Linked DNA regions of Homo sapiens: regions 1 and 2 are each linked to region 3. Evidence: promoter capture Hi-C in 16 types of primary human blood cells and fetal thymus (Javierre and others, 2016). All regions are on one chromosome and are shown on one strand. The core of a region is centred on a gene start or on the middle of the fragment in contact, and the rest is flanking DNA. Distances in the headings are between cores, read along the strand shown.

Evidence for each region. Contacts are between HindIII fragments. The CHiCAGO score rates a contact against its expected background, and 5 or more counts as called.
Region 1: a contact is called between a fragment that was not itself captured here and the fragment with the promoter of CCDC154 in region 3, in 1 of 17 cell types (M1 macrophages). The highest score is 5.1, in M1 macrophages.
Region 2: a fragment that was not itself captured here is called in contact with the fragment with the promoter of CCDC154 in region 3 in 2 of 17 cell types (naive B cells and endothelial precursors); the score reaches 6.4 in naive B cells.

The regions. Positions count from the first base shown.
Region 1 is chr16:1,569,494-1,574,017 of GRCh38, reverse strand. IFT140 (intraflagellar transport 140) reads left to right here. Exons shown (of 31, transcript NM_014714.4): 14 at 2,484-2,611. Among named protein-coding and RNA genes, the nearest start is that of TMEM204, 38 kb to the right of the region's middle. The HindIII fragment of the contact is 2,377 bases long and covers 219-2,595 here.
Region 2 is chr16:1,680,448-1,685,070 of GRCh38, reverse strand. All of the region lies in intron 1 of JPT2 (Jupiter microtubule associated homolog 2), which reads right to left. Among named protein-coding and RNA genes, the nearest start is that of JPT2, 4.5 kb to the right of the region's middle. The HindIII fragment of the contact is 382 bases long and covers 1,263-1,644 here.
Region 3 is chr16:1,441,456-1,445,805 of GRCh38, reverse strand. It overlaps CCDC154 (coiled-coil domain containing 154), which reads left to right and starts at 1,250. Exons shown (of 17, transcript NM_001143980.3): 1 at 1,250-1,490; 2 at 1,794-2,010; 3 at 2,111-2,300; 4 at 2,505-2,545; 5 at 2,831-2,926; 6 at 3,277-3,400. The coding sequence starts at 1,484. CLCN7 (chloride voltage-gated channel 7) reads left to right here. Exons shown (of 25, transcript NM_001287.6): 25 at 1-871. The HindIII fragment of the contact is 15,368 bases long and covers 1-4,350 here.

The sequences.
Region 1 (4,524 bases), core at 158-2,657, 130 kb before region 3:
GCGGCAGCAGGCAGTTTCCAGAGAAGAACACAGCTCAAGGGAGAGCAGGGCGTGGCTGCTGCCTCATTTAAGGTCTCTGGGGGCCTGATCCCTGAAAAGGACTTACCTTCCTCTGATAACAGTTCTTTCCTTTCCCCAATTTTGACTTATTTTCTTGGCTTTGTGTTATTTTCTCCCTAGAAAGTAACTTCTGTGCCAGCGTAGTGGGGAGCCAAGCTTAAGGGTGGAGAAGAGTGAAGTTGTGGGAGACGCCGCAGGAGAGCAGCTCAGCCTGGCCCCAGGCAGCAGCCACCAGCAGAGCTGGAGTGGAGGGGCACTGTGGCTCTTATAAGGGGGGTGACTAGTTGCATGATGGGTGGCTACAGAGAGTATAGAACTGAGGATGTTCTGAGTTTTCTAGCCTGAGAGGTTGGGTTTGTCGTGGCACCTTTAAGACAGGAACTCCAGAGGCAGAGCTGGCATAGGGGGCAGGGCAGGATGCAAGTTCGAGTTCGTGGTGCCTTGGAGAGCCCTTAGGGGTGTCTAAGAGACAGTTGGAAATACAAGCTCTGGAGGTCAGGAGCTGGGTCAGTGCCCTGAAGACAGTACTTTGGGAGTTGGGAATGTATTGACATAGAGATGTTAAAGAATGTAAAAGAGTTGAGCTCAGATCTGAACCCGGGACCCAGCAGGTAAGGGGCAGGGCAGGGAGTGAGCTCACCGAGGAGCCTCCAGTGCTCTCTGTCATCATTAATAGTGTCAGCCCTGGCCCCATCAGCTAGTCCGCTCCCCCTGCTCTTTTTATCCTGTGTTCAAGCAGCCACTTGCTCATTCCATAAGCATTTATTAGGCTCCCACTGGATACATCAAAATGAAGTGAGCTTCCTCAGCTTGGAATACTCCCACCCTGACTCCAGCCATCCGTCCCTCACCCTCAGTTTCCTAAACACACTGTGCAGGCTCCTGCCCCTTTGCTGGCTTTTGGAGTCTGTGTTTAGATTTCCGTGCCCACTAAGTTCTCCTGGAGCTCTGCCCACCTTCCAGCCTGCCTTGCCACTCAGATTCTGTGCAGCTCCCATGCACTAGATCTGTGCCTTCCCTGCTGCCTGTCTTGGCCCCAGGATGCATTCAGCCGTTCGCATCTGACTCGCTGCCCCCACGTGGAGTGCCCTGGGGATGTGCCACTCACTTGTGATGCTCCTCCCCCAACCCACTGCTGGGCAGGGTGTAGGCATTCACTGGGCATTGGTTGAATTGAGCCAAGAGCTTCGCTTTGAAACTCAGAGGATTAAGGTTAGTCCCTAAAAGACACACCACAAAGCATGAGGTCTGCTCCAGCGCAACTGTGGGGTGACTGTGGGGTATATGCTTTCTTTTTTGTTGTTGTTTCTTTGAGATGGAGTCTTGCTCTGTCGCCCAGGCTGGAGTGCAGTGGCATGTTCTCGGCTCACTGCAAGCTCCACCTCCCGGGTCCACACCATTCTCCTGCCTCAGCCTCCCGAGTAGCTGGGACTACAGGCACCCACCGCCACACCCGGCTAATTTTTTGTATTTTTAGTAGAGACGGGGTTTCACCGTGTTAGCCTGGATGGTCTCGATCTCCTGACCTCATGATCCACGCGCCTTGGCCTCCCAAAGTGCTGGGATTACAGGCGTGAGCCACCGCGCCCGGCCTGTGGGGCATGCTTTCTAACGTGCCGACTGTGGGACGTGCTTTCTAACATGCTGGAAAGGCCAAGGTGATGCTTTGAAAATATAAATGATGCGAAATCACTTCCCAGCTCAAAACCCTGCAGTCTTCCAGTTTCACTTAGAAGGAAATCTCACTCTTCCCCTCAGCCTGCAGGAACGCCCCTGTGGCCTCTGCCCACCTGGCTGACTTCTTAAACATTTTACTGAAATACCCACACACTTAGAAAGAGTGGGTGCGTCGTGCCTAAGCGTACGGTGCAGGGGCTTTTCGCGGGTGGGACATTGCCAGCATGTAACTAGCATCCTTCCTCTCCCCCACCGCCTCACCCAGGGTAACCATTCACGTGACACAACGTAACAAGTATTCCTGCGGCTTTCACATGACAGGGCCTCCACAGACAGGGCCCCCCAGAGCTCCCCAGTGGATGGAATTCGCCCTCTCTCCGTGCCTGGCACTTTCCTGAGATCCCATTCTTTACCTACATGGCACTTACTCAGCTGAGATTACATATGTATTTGTTTGTCGACCGCACTGCTGTCTGTTTTCCCCTCTAGACTGGAGGCACCAGAGCTCTCCTGAGGACAGGGCCCCGTCCTTCCCCCGCAGCACTAGAGTCCAGCAGAGTGCTGGGCACACTCTGAGCCGTCAGTAAACACTGAGCGAGTGAATGAGTGGAGTGTACAAGGTTATCTGTGAACAATGTTCAGTAACTCACATGAAATATATCCATTTCTTGTGTGTACAAGGTTATCTGTGAACAATGTTCAGTAACTAACATGAAATATATCCATTTCTTGTTCCTTTTCCTCAGGGGACTGTCAAACAACTCCTCCTTTTCTCGGAGACTGAGGGGAATCCCTGCTTCTTGGACATCTGTGGGAATTTCCTGGTTGTAGGGACAGACTTGGCTCACTTTAAAAGCTTTGATCTTTCCCGAAGGTAAATTTTTTTTCCAAATAGAAGTGTGAACATTTTTTTAGTCAGTCAGGAGACAGTGTGATGGGTAGAAAGTGAGTTAGAAGCCAGAAGACTCCTTAGGTGCCCATTTTAACACCGACATGCCACTTGTGCTCTCGAATGCCTCATGTTGGGGCTCAGTTCCTGGCCTTTGCCTGGTGGTGGAGCCGTGTCGGGGAGAGGAGGCTTGAATAGTTGAAGCACAGGGAGTGGTGAGGGTGGGGAAGCTTCTATATGATGAGTGCATGACATTGTACATTTGTTGGAAATCATAGCGCTTTATGGTGCAAAGTGTGAACCTTAATGTATACAAATGTTTAAAAAATCATTCAGGCTGGGCAGGGTAGCTCACACCTGTATTTCCAGCACTTTGGGAGGCCAAGGCGAGAAGACTGCTTGAGCCCAGGAGTTTGAGACCAACCTGGGCAACATAGCAAAACCCTGTCTCTACAAAAACTTTTAAAAATTAGCTGGGCATGGTGGCACGTACCTGTAGTCCCACCTGCTTGGGAGGCTGAGGTGGGAGGATTGCTTGAGCCTCGGAGATCGAGGTTGCGGTGAGCTGTGGTTGTGCCACTGCACTCCAGCCTGGGCCACAGAGTGAGACCCTGTCTCAAAAAAATCACTTAGAATGTTAGAGGACCCCAGGACGGAACACAGAAGGTAACAAAACAGTCTCACTGTGTTACCAAATGTATGAAACAGCTTCACTAAAGGGTGTGGGGGGAAAGTGCTGACCTAAGTGGCTCTGGGAGTGAGGGGAGGCCCTGGCGAGCACTTAGGCCGAAGGAACTGCACAGGAGCTCGGCTCTCTAGTGGAGAATTCTGCTCCCCACAGGGGTTGGGATGAGCAACGCTGATCCTGTGATGCGTGTGCACTGGAATTGGACAGCTGAGCAAATGGAGGGTAGATGGCAGGAGCCTGGCATCGCGTGGTGGGAGTGGGAGTGGGAGTTACAGATTAGCAAGTGGAGGGACTAGAATAGGCCCTGGGAGAGTGGATCAGAGGTAGAGGTGTCAGCATGAACAAATCCCTGGCTTCATGTAGGTAGGGATGACTCCATACACAGAATCGTAGGTCTGTATCAATGTACCCGTTGGTACACACATATTTCCTCACTCTGTCAGCTGAGAGGGCCTAGAAGCAACAACCCTGTCCCAGCAGGCACACCTGGTGCCCAGACCTTGGTTTCTACCACCATCCTCCAATAAAGGAGCTATGGATCCTTGGAGAGATGCTGACTCTAGGACCAGGACAGGAAATGTACAAATGAGCTGGCAGCATCTGTGCTGCCCGAAAGTGAGGAAGTGCTAAAAACAAAGCAAACCAAAAAACCTCATAAAGATGGCAGGGTGGGGGTCACAGAGACACAGACCCCACCAAAAGAGGTCCTAATAGCCAAAGCTGGAATAATTGGAGCAACAAAATAAATAAAGCAGGCCAGATGCGGTGGCTCATGCCTGTAGTCCCAGCATTTTATTTATTTATTATTTTTTTTTTTTCTGGGTGGCCCATTTCATCCTGCAAGTCCCAGCACATTGGGAGGCCAAGAGAGGTGGATTGCTTAGGCCCAGGAGTTCAAGACCAGCCTGGGCAGCATGGTGAAACCCAATTTCTTAAAAAAAAAAAATTAGCCAGGCATGGTGACTTGCATCTATAGTACCAGTTACTCAGGTGGCTGAGGCAGGAGGATCACTTGAGCCCAGGAGGTCAAGGCTGCAGTGAGCCAAGATCACACCACTGCACTACAGCCTGGGCGACAGAGTGAGAGATCCTGTCTCAGAGAGAGAGAGGGAGAGAGAAAAGGAAGGGGAGGGGAGGGAGAGGAGGGGAGTGGAGGGAAAAGACAAAAAGAGAGAAAGAAAGAAAGAAAAAAGGGAAAGAAGGGAGGGAG
Region 2 (4,623 bases), core at 204-2,703, 240 kb before region 3:
ACAGGTATGAGCCACCATACCCAGCAAAAGTATTTTCTTAACATCTACTGAGAAATCACATACCACCATTAGTTAATACTGGTATGACTAGTTTACAGACGCCAGACTACTTCTGCTGCTCTTTAGTTTCCCTTAAAAGTATTCTTTTTTTTTTTTTTTTGAGATGGAGTCTCGCTCTGTCGCCCAGGCTGGAGTGCAGTGGCACGATCTCAGCTCACTGCAACCTCTGCCTCCTGGGTTCAAGTGATTCTCCAGCCTCAGTCTCCTGAGTAGCTCAGATTACAGGTGCCTGCCACAACACCTGGCTAACTTTTGTTTGTTTTTTTTGAGACGGAGTTTTACTCTTGTTGCCCAGGCTGGAGGAATGCAATGGCGCAATCTCAGCTCACCACAACCTCCGCCTCCTGGGTTCAAGCAATTCTTCTGCCTCAGCCTCCCACGTAGCTAGGATTACAGGTATGCGCCACCACACCCAGCTAATTTTGTATTTTTAGTAGAGACGGGGTTTCGCCATGTTGGTCAGGTTGGTCTCGAACTCCTGACCTGGGGTGATCCACCTGCCTCGGCCTCCCAAAGTGCTGGGATTACAGGTGTGGGCCATCGCACCTGGCTCTTGAATCACTTTTTATTGTAAAAACTTAAACTTAAGAACTAATAAGGAATTGCCACAAAGCTCTATTTCTAGAGCACTATCTACATTAAAAACCGGTGAAACGCTGAATTCATAACAACTGGAAAAACTTTTAAATGCATTTGAGAGAGAGGCTTACTGAAATTGAGATTTAAACCAGTGAGTGGCACATGCTCTCTCACTAGTCCTAAGCAATGGGACTGTCTGTGATCCCAGACGTTTAGAAACGAAGTCAGCCCTCTGTATCCACGGGCTCTGCTTCCATGGATTCAACCAACCTCAGATCAAAATGTCAGAAATAAAAGGATGGTTGCATCTGTACTGAACATCTACAGACTTCTTTTCTGTCATTATTCCCCAGGTGATACGGTGTAACAACTATGTGCATAGTATTAGGTATTATATGTAACCTTGTAACCTAGAGATGATTTAAAAGCATATGGAGGATGTGCATAGGTTATATGCAAACATTACACCACTTTATATCAAGGACTTACACATCCTTGGATTTTGGCATCCTGGGGGTCCTGGAACCAACTCCCGCAGGATACCAAGGATGACCATACTTGAAATTACAGGGCTCAACATCACACAAAAACTATGATATGAGGTTAGATCTCACTGGAAAGCTTTGCAAACACTGACCACTCAAGGTTTGGTTAACAAAAATAACAGTTTCTCCTCAAAAGATCTAGAAAGAGCGCTGAGGGCTCCTTGTGACTGGATGTGAATGGAGTTCTCAGATCTCCTGCTATAAAGCAGGAAGGCAGAGAGTGCTTCAGTCTCCGCCTGCAGAGACCCACGGGCTGGCTACTGTACCCCAGAAACCAAGCGTGTGCTGGCCGACCTCTGAAGTGGTGCCCAGGGCCCCTGTCCACTCAGGAGGCTGGGGGAGGTGGATGCCAAACTTCCTGTCAGCAGTTGCCATTTCCTGGAGGATTTGAGGAGGGAGAAAAAAAAAGACAGGTGCACTTAAGAAAAATTATTTTTTAAAAATAACCAATAACCAAGCTTAAATGAGAAAGGGCTGTCCGGGAGCAGTACCTGGCACCTGTAATCCCAGCACCTTGGGAGGCCGAGGTGGGAGGACTGTTTGAGCCCAGGAGTTCGAGACACGCCTGGGCATATGGGGAGACCCTGTCTCTACAAAAAATACAAAAATAAGGCCAGGCGTGGTGGCTCACGCCTGTAATCCCAGCACCTTGGGAGGCCGAGGTGGGCGGATCACGAGGTCAGGAGATCGAGACCATCCTGGCTAACACGGTGAAATCCCGTCTCTACTAAAAATACAAAAAATTAGCCGGGCGTGGTGGCGGACGCCTGTAGTCCCAGCTACTCAGGAGGCTGGGGCAGGAGAATGGCGTGAACCCGGGAGGCGGAGCTTGCAGTGAACCAAGATGCGCCACTGCATTCCAGCCTGGGTGACAGAGCGAGATTCCGTCTCAAAAAAACAAACAAACAAACAAAAAATTAGCTGGGTGTGGTGGTATGCGCCTGTTGTCCCAGTTATTCGGGAGGCTAAGGCTGGCTTGAGCCCAGGAGGTCAAAGCTGCAGTGAACCATGATTGCATCACTGTACACCAGCCTGGACGAAAGAGTGAGGACTTGTTTCACCAAAAGGAAAAAAAATAAAGGGTGGTGGGTGGGAGGGCGTGGCTTAACAAGATTTTAGGTGAGGTGCTCTTAGAGTGGCCATAAGGCCATCTGACTTCCATATCCATTTTTGAATCACGCAGCCCTCCTAATTCTACATTTTTTTTTTTTTTTGAGACGAAATCTCGCTCTTGTTGCCCAGGCCAGAGTGCAATGGCACAATCTCGGCTCACTGCAATCTCCACCTCCTGGGTTCAGGCGATTCTCCTGCCTCAGGCTCCTGAGTAGCTGGGATTACAGATGCCCGCCACCATGCCCAGCTAATTTTTCTATTTTTAGTAGAGACGGGGTTTCACCATGTTGGCCAGGCTGGTCTTGAACTTCTGACCTCAGGTGATCCGCCCACCTCAGCCTCCCAAAGTGCTGGGATTACAGGCATGAGCCACTGTGTCCGGCCTATTTTATTTTTTTGAGATGGAGTCTCACTCTGTTACCAGGCTGGAATACAGTGACGCGATCTCAGCTCACCGCAACCTCCACCTCCCAGGTTCAAGCAATTCTCCCGCCTCAGCCTTCCGAGTAGCTGGGATTACAGGTGTGCGTCACCGTGCTTGGCTATTTTTTTGTATTTTTAGTACAGACGGGGTTTCACCACGTCGGCCAGGCTGGTCTCAAACTCCTGACCTCAAGTGATCCGCCCGCCTCGGCCTCCCAAAGTGCTGGGATTACAGGCGTGAGCCACTGTGCCCAGCCAATTCTGCGATTTTTCTTGGATAGTGTAGCAGGTCTAAACATGCACGGGTCTCTACAGTTCTCTCTTTGGAAATAAGGGATGAAGGCCTGCAATCTTTCGAACTGAACTGAATTTATCAAGTCTTATGTGAGCTGAGCATGAGCTATAATTCCTTTTACTGACTTATTTCAAATATGGCTTTTCTCTCAAGCCCTCAAGGTGCTACAAACTGTCAGATCTGATTCCAGGTAGACTCGCCTTGACTGCAAGCTCTGTAGGACTCTTTCCCGACCCCACATTCCCTACATTCACAGTCTCCTGTCTCCTCTGCCTTTCACCCTTGCTTCAGTTCAACTTGCACATCTCTCGAGCACCTATCATTGGCAATCCTTCCCCAGACGCCGTAGATAGAGGAAAGCAAGTCCTTACCCCGGAGGAGCTTCAAGTTTAAACAGGAAAGCTAGAGCTCTGCACAGGTGGTTTCAGTGTCTGTGTGAGTGACGTGACAGACGCCTAGTGCCATCGGGACTCCAAAATTTGGAAGAGGTGAAACCCAAATTGAGTCTGTGGCCTCCATGTGGAATGGGGACCAATGGGCGCAGGAGGTGAGTGGTAGTTACTTGCAATGACCAGTGTTACTTTGGGGTGATGGAAACACAATATTTAATATTGTTCTATGTGCTTTTCTGAATTTTATTTGAAAACAAGCAAAGAAAAAAAAGTGGTACCAAAGACGGTTTTAGCAGAAATTATGGCGCACACAGGCCCAGCCCCAGGCAAGGGGCAGCGGCTATCTCGGTCACAAAGGCAACAGGTCCCACTGCAGGTTTCACACAGACCGCAGGGCTGGGCTGCCTCAAAGGGGTCTCGGATGAATGGAACTGAGCGTTCAATAGACCTTTCAACAAAAACAGCCCGACAACAATGGCGCAGTGTGGCTTTCTCTAGGCTACAGGCACTTACCACTATGACACTAATAGGGGGAGGGGGAACGCTAGAGCTCACACATTTGGGGACAAATTCACAATGTGAGTGGGGGGTGCTTCCCAATTATTTTTTGCCTTTTGTGGTACCCCTTCCATATATTTCAGTGAAGATATTCAAAACACACAAGAGAAACTCAAGCGCACAGGAGAAGAAAAACCTCACACAGCTGGAGTGGACTGCAGCACTGGAGAGGTAGGGAAAAGCTGTGTGACCCTCCTCGGGGGTCTCCATGCTCCTGACCCTCTCTAATAGTTTGTCCCCGAGTTTCAGAAAGGATGAGGGGACTGGTCAGGCTTAGAGAGAAGCAGTGAGAAATAAACTTGGATTAAATTCCTTACAAATAGAAATGTTCCAGCTTGAAGGAAGACCTCAGGTTAATCGCGGCTAAAGCATAACGCTTTTACGAAACCCCTTTAACACAAGACAATCCCTCAGCAAGGAAAGGAGAGATGTGAGGTCTCAGGAGAGGAAAACCTGGCTAGGTAATCTTACAGCCACCACCTGACTCGCTTCACAGCAAAACTAAATGTGACGCTTACAAGGCGCCCGCCCTGCGACTCGACCCCGTTCAGATGAGTGGCAAATGTGCAGCGTCTGGTGGACCCCAAGCAGAAGCTTCCAGTGATACCTCATCATCCAGTTCAGACCGGCTTTCCTTCCTCACCATCCTAAAAGGAAG
Region 3 (4,350 bases), core at 1-2,500:
GGGAAGGCAGGTCTTCCCCTAGCACATGGGGACCCCGGCCTCGAGGGTGACCTCCCTACCCCGCCCCTGCCAGCCACCAAGCGCAGGTGCAGCGGGGGCCAGACTCCTGCCGGCCTCAGAGGACACCTGGCCCAGCACAGGCAGCTAGAAGGGCCGGTGGGCACCGGGGCCGGGAAGCCCCCACCTCACCACCTGAGGGCCCCTGGGAGGCTCCTCTGGCCTGGCTGGGCTGGGTCTGGGGCCGCCACAGGCCCCTCACGGGGCGGCAGAGGCAACTTCAGTGTCCCTGTTAGAGCAACACGGGTCCCTCCGTGGGGGGCTGGGTGCGGCCCCCTGCCGTGTATTTCCTCCCCAGGGAGTGGGGCCTCCCCGGGAGCTGACGCCACCACCCTGCTTAGCCCTCACAGGGCCCCAAGGTGTCCGAGTGTGTTGGGTCTGAACGCGAAATAAAGAAATCCTCTCAGCCCGCCTTTGCCAGCGTCGTCCCTCCCACCCCACCCAGACCACGTCCAACAGCCTGGGACTTTCGGGACCCTGGGGTCGGGGCACCGTGTGGAGTGAGAAAGGCGTGAAAGACAGCGGCTGCGGCCACCCAGGGCACCAGCCACATCCTCTTCCTCGTCCCCGCCCCTCAGCCTCCCTCCTCTGGCTCCTGGCTGGTGGGTCTGGGGGCAAGGCAGAGGCGCTCCAGGTGGAGGGGGGCGGGCCGGGGTGCCCACGCTGGGGTGACGCAAGAAGAAAACTCCCGGGCCTCAGAGTCGGCGCCGGAAACCTAGGTCTGGGTTTCCCTCGTGGTGGTTGTGTACTGAGGACCTGGAAGTGATCATATTTTGGATATATTCGGTTAAATAAAATCAGCGGTTAGGATTCACATCGCTGCTTCTTGCCTTTTAATGGGGCTGCTGAGCAAGATGGGTTCCCGTGGAGCCCGGCTGTGCCCCTCACCCCGATGGCGCTGCCCAGGCCTCGGGCTCCGCTCGGACGTGGGCCTGGCTGTGTCCGGGGTGTCCTGGGGCTCTCGGCCTCCCTGCTCCCAGCGTCCCTCCCGGCGTGCCCAGGCCTCGTCAGGGCCTCCTTCCCCTCCCTCGGCAGCTGAAGAAGTCCCCTTTGCCAGAGGACACGTGTCTGCGCCCTCTCGGGAGTGGGGCCCCTCAGATCCATCCAGAAGCAGGCAGTTGGGGGGCCCTGCGGGAGTGGGAGAGCTGAGGGCTAGAGTTCCATTGGCAGTTGGGCTGTGAAGCCGTGAGGTTCTGGGGAGAGAAGGAAGGTTCTGGAACGGCCCCGCTGCCCCACACCTGCCTCCCTGGGGACCCTGAGAAGGCAGCCAGACGAGGGCAGCAGCTCGTCCCTCAAGGCCCAGAGCTCTCACGGGACTTCCTCTGGCTCCTGACCCCCCTGGCCTGTGCCCAGCTCTGGGCAACCTCAGAGGCCCCAAGGCCCAAGCTACAGCCGAGGGCAGGGTGGCCGGTGCAGCCCAGCAGCCATGTCAGGTGACCAGAGCGGAGGAGCGGGGCCCAGGGAGGGGCTTGCCACAGGTGTGAGGGTGGGGACCGCTCTGCTTCTGACCCCGGGCTCCCTCCAGCTCGCTTGTTCCTGCCGCCCAGTGCTGTGTGTCTTCAGGCAGGGCCCTGGACTTGTCTGAGCCAAGCCCGTCTGGATCCTGTGTGACCCAAGGAGACGCGTTGAGCTCTGGGTGGTGGGCGAGGGTCCTGCGGGGGTTTGGGGCCTTGTTCCCGTAAGCTCCAGTGGGGGCCGGGCCCCAAGGGGCAAGCTCCCAAGATGCCTCCTTGTAGAGTTGGCTGACAGTGGACCCTCAGGGGCATCGGCCCCTTCCCAGCTGAGAGCCGTCACCCTGGAAGACCTGGGGCTCCTCCTGGCAGGAGGCCTGGCCAGCCCCGAGCCCTTGAGCCTGGAGGAGCTCTCGGAGAGGTATGAGTCCAGCCATCCGACATCCACGGCCTCTGTCCCCGAGCAGGACACCGCCAAGCACTGGAACCAGCTGGAGCAGTGGTGAGCCCTGCAGGGGGTGCTGGCGGGGGAGGACCACGTCGCCGCCGCCTCCGCCTCCACGGCGGGCACCGCCAGACTCGCCCACTCTCGCCCCGGCCAGGGTGGTGGAGCTGCAGGCCGAGGTGGCCTGCCTGCGGGAGCACAAGCAGCGCTGTGAGCGCGCCACGCGGAGCCTGCTGCGGGAGCTGCTCCAGGTGCGGGCCCGCGTGCAGCTGCAGGGCTCAGAGCTGAGGCAGTTGCAGCAGGAGGCGCGGCCGGCAGCCCAGGCCCCCGAAAAGGAGGCGCCGGAGGTGAGCGGCTCCCCCACCCACAGGTCGAGCTGCCCCTTTCCTGGGTGTTGGGGGCAGCTGCTTCTGGGCCTGGAGCCCAGCTCACCCCTGCTGCCCAGGCCCAGAGCTCCCAGGGGCCAGTGGTGCCGGAGCTGGGTGGACTCCAGGGGCAGGTGCCAGACCCGGGCCTAGGTCCAGCCCACAGCCTCCTCTTCCTCCTCGCAGTTCTCTGGTCTCCAGAACCAGATGCAGGCCCTGGACAAAAGGTACCCCCCACACACCTAGGGGCACAGGCCCAGGGCGGGGAGGTGGTGGCGAGAAAGCAGCGGCAGGTGTGGTGGGGGGTCCACATCTCCCGCTGGGTGTCGCTGGAGTGGGGGATACACATCCAGGTCCAGCTAGAAAAGGCCGGGTTTGTACGTGCCTGGGCGGCCTTCAGAGGCCCAGGAAAGCCATGGGAGGTGGCCACAGGGGCCCCTTGGCCAGACCCCCAGCCCGCCGAGGCTGCTCAGCCCGCCTGGGCCTCTCGGGAATGGCTTGTTGTGTCCCAGGCTGGTGGAGGTCCGGGAAGCCTTGACCCGGCTCAGGAGGAGGCAGGTGCAACAGGAGGCGGAGAGAAGGGGCGCCGAGCAAGAGGCCGGCCTCAGGTGGGCGCCCACCGCCCGTGGCTGGCTCCGGAGCTTGCGTGGGGTCATTTGAGAGTCCCTGGCTGAGCCAAGACACGGGTCCCCCTGCCGTGTGTCCCCAGTAACCCGGCGGGGCACCGCCCTCGGTGCCAAGCGTGCTGGGAAGCCTGGGCCCGCTGCGGACCCTCTGTGGGGAAGAGACTCGCAGCAGCCCTTCCCTGCCACCGGTGCTGTGTTTCCCATTCCTCTGTTTTCTGGTGGGGCAGGGGGCGGGGGTCGTACACCTCCTGCCTGGCCAGCCTGTGGGTCAGCCTCACCCTGCTGGGCCCTCCGGCCAGCTGGGCTGGTGTGACCACAGCCGACTTCTCTAGACTGGCCAAGCTGACCGACTTGCTGCAGCAGGAGGAGCAGGGCCGGGAGGTGGCCTGCGGCGCCCTGCAGAAGAACCAAGAGGACAGCAGCCGGAGGGTGGACCTGGAGGTGGCCAGAATGCAGGTACCACCAGGCCCAGGCTTCAGGGGGGCCGCCCAGAGGGCCGAGGAGGAGACCCTAACCCTCTCGGCCTGTGCCATCCGATACAGCGGCCGTTCACCATGTATCTGTGTCCACTGAAATCAGCTATAGTTGTAGACAATGTAAAACTCAATTCCTCAGCCGCACATGCCCCATTTCAAAAGTTCAGGTTGTTTGGGCACGGTGGCTCACGCCTGTAATCCCAGCACTTTGGGAGGCTGAGGCGGGCAGATCACAAGGTCAGGAGTTCAAGACCAGCCTGGCCAACATGGTGAAACCCCATCTCTACTAAAAATACAAAAAACTAGCCAGGTGTGGTGGCGGGCACCTGTAGCCTCAGCTACTGAGGAGGCTGAGGCAGGAGGATTGCTTGAATCCAGCAGGAGGAGGTCACAGTGAGCTGAGATCGCGCCACTCCAGCCTGGTGACAGAGTGAGACTCCATTTCAAAAAACAAAACAAAACAAAAAAACAAAAGCTCAGGCCACGTGCAGTGGCACACGCCTGTAAATCCCAGCACTTTTGGGAGGCCGAGGCGGGAGGATCGCTTGAGCCTGGGAAGTCAAGACCAGCCTGGGCAACACAGCGAGACCTCATCTCAAAAAAAAGCTCAGTTGCCACGTGGGGCCGGCAGCTGCAGATCTGGGCGCTCTTCGTCCCAGGAAGCTGCCTGTGTCCTGCCGCCTCCACCCCTCCCCACACAGCCAGCGCCTGCCCGGGTCCACAGATCGCAGCCCCGAAGCCCCTTCCACGGCCACTCTCGGGCTCCACCTTTCCCTGCACACAAAGCGGAGTTCACCTTCCTCGAGGACACGAGTTCCTAGAAGCCAGGGTCCCACCCACGGGGCTGGAGTGGCTCCCCCTCCTGCTGTGGCCTCAGCAGGGGCCTCCGCTGTGGGTGGGGAGGGAACGGGCAGCTGCACATTTCAGCAG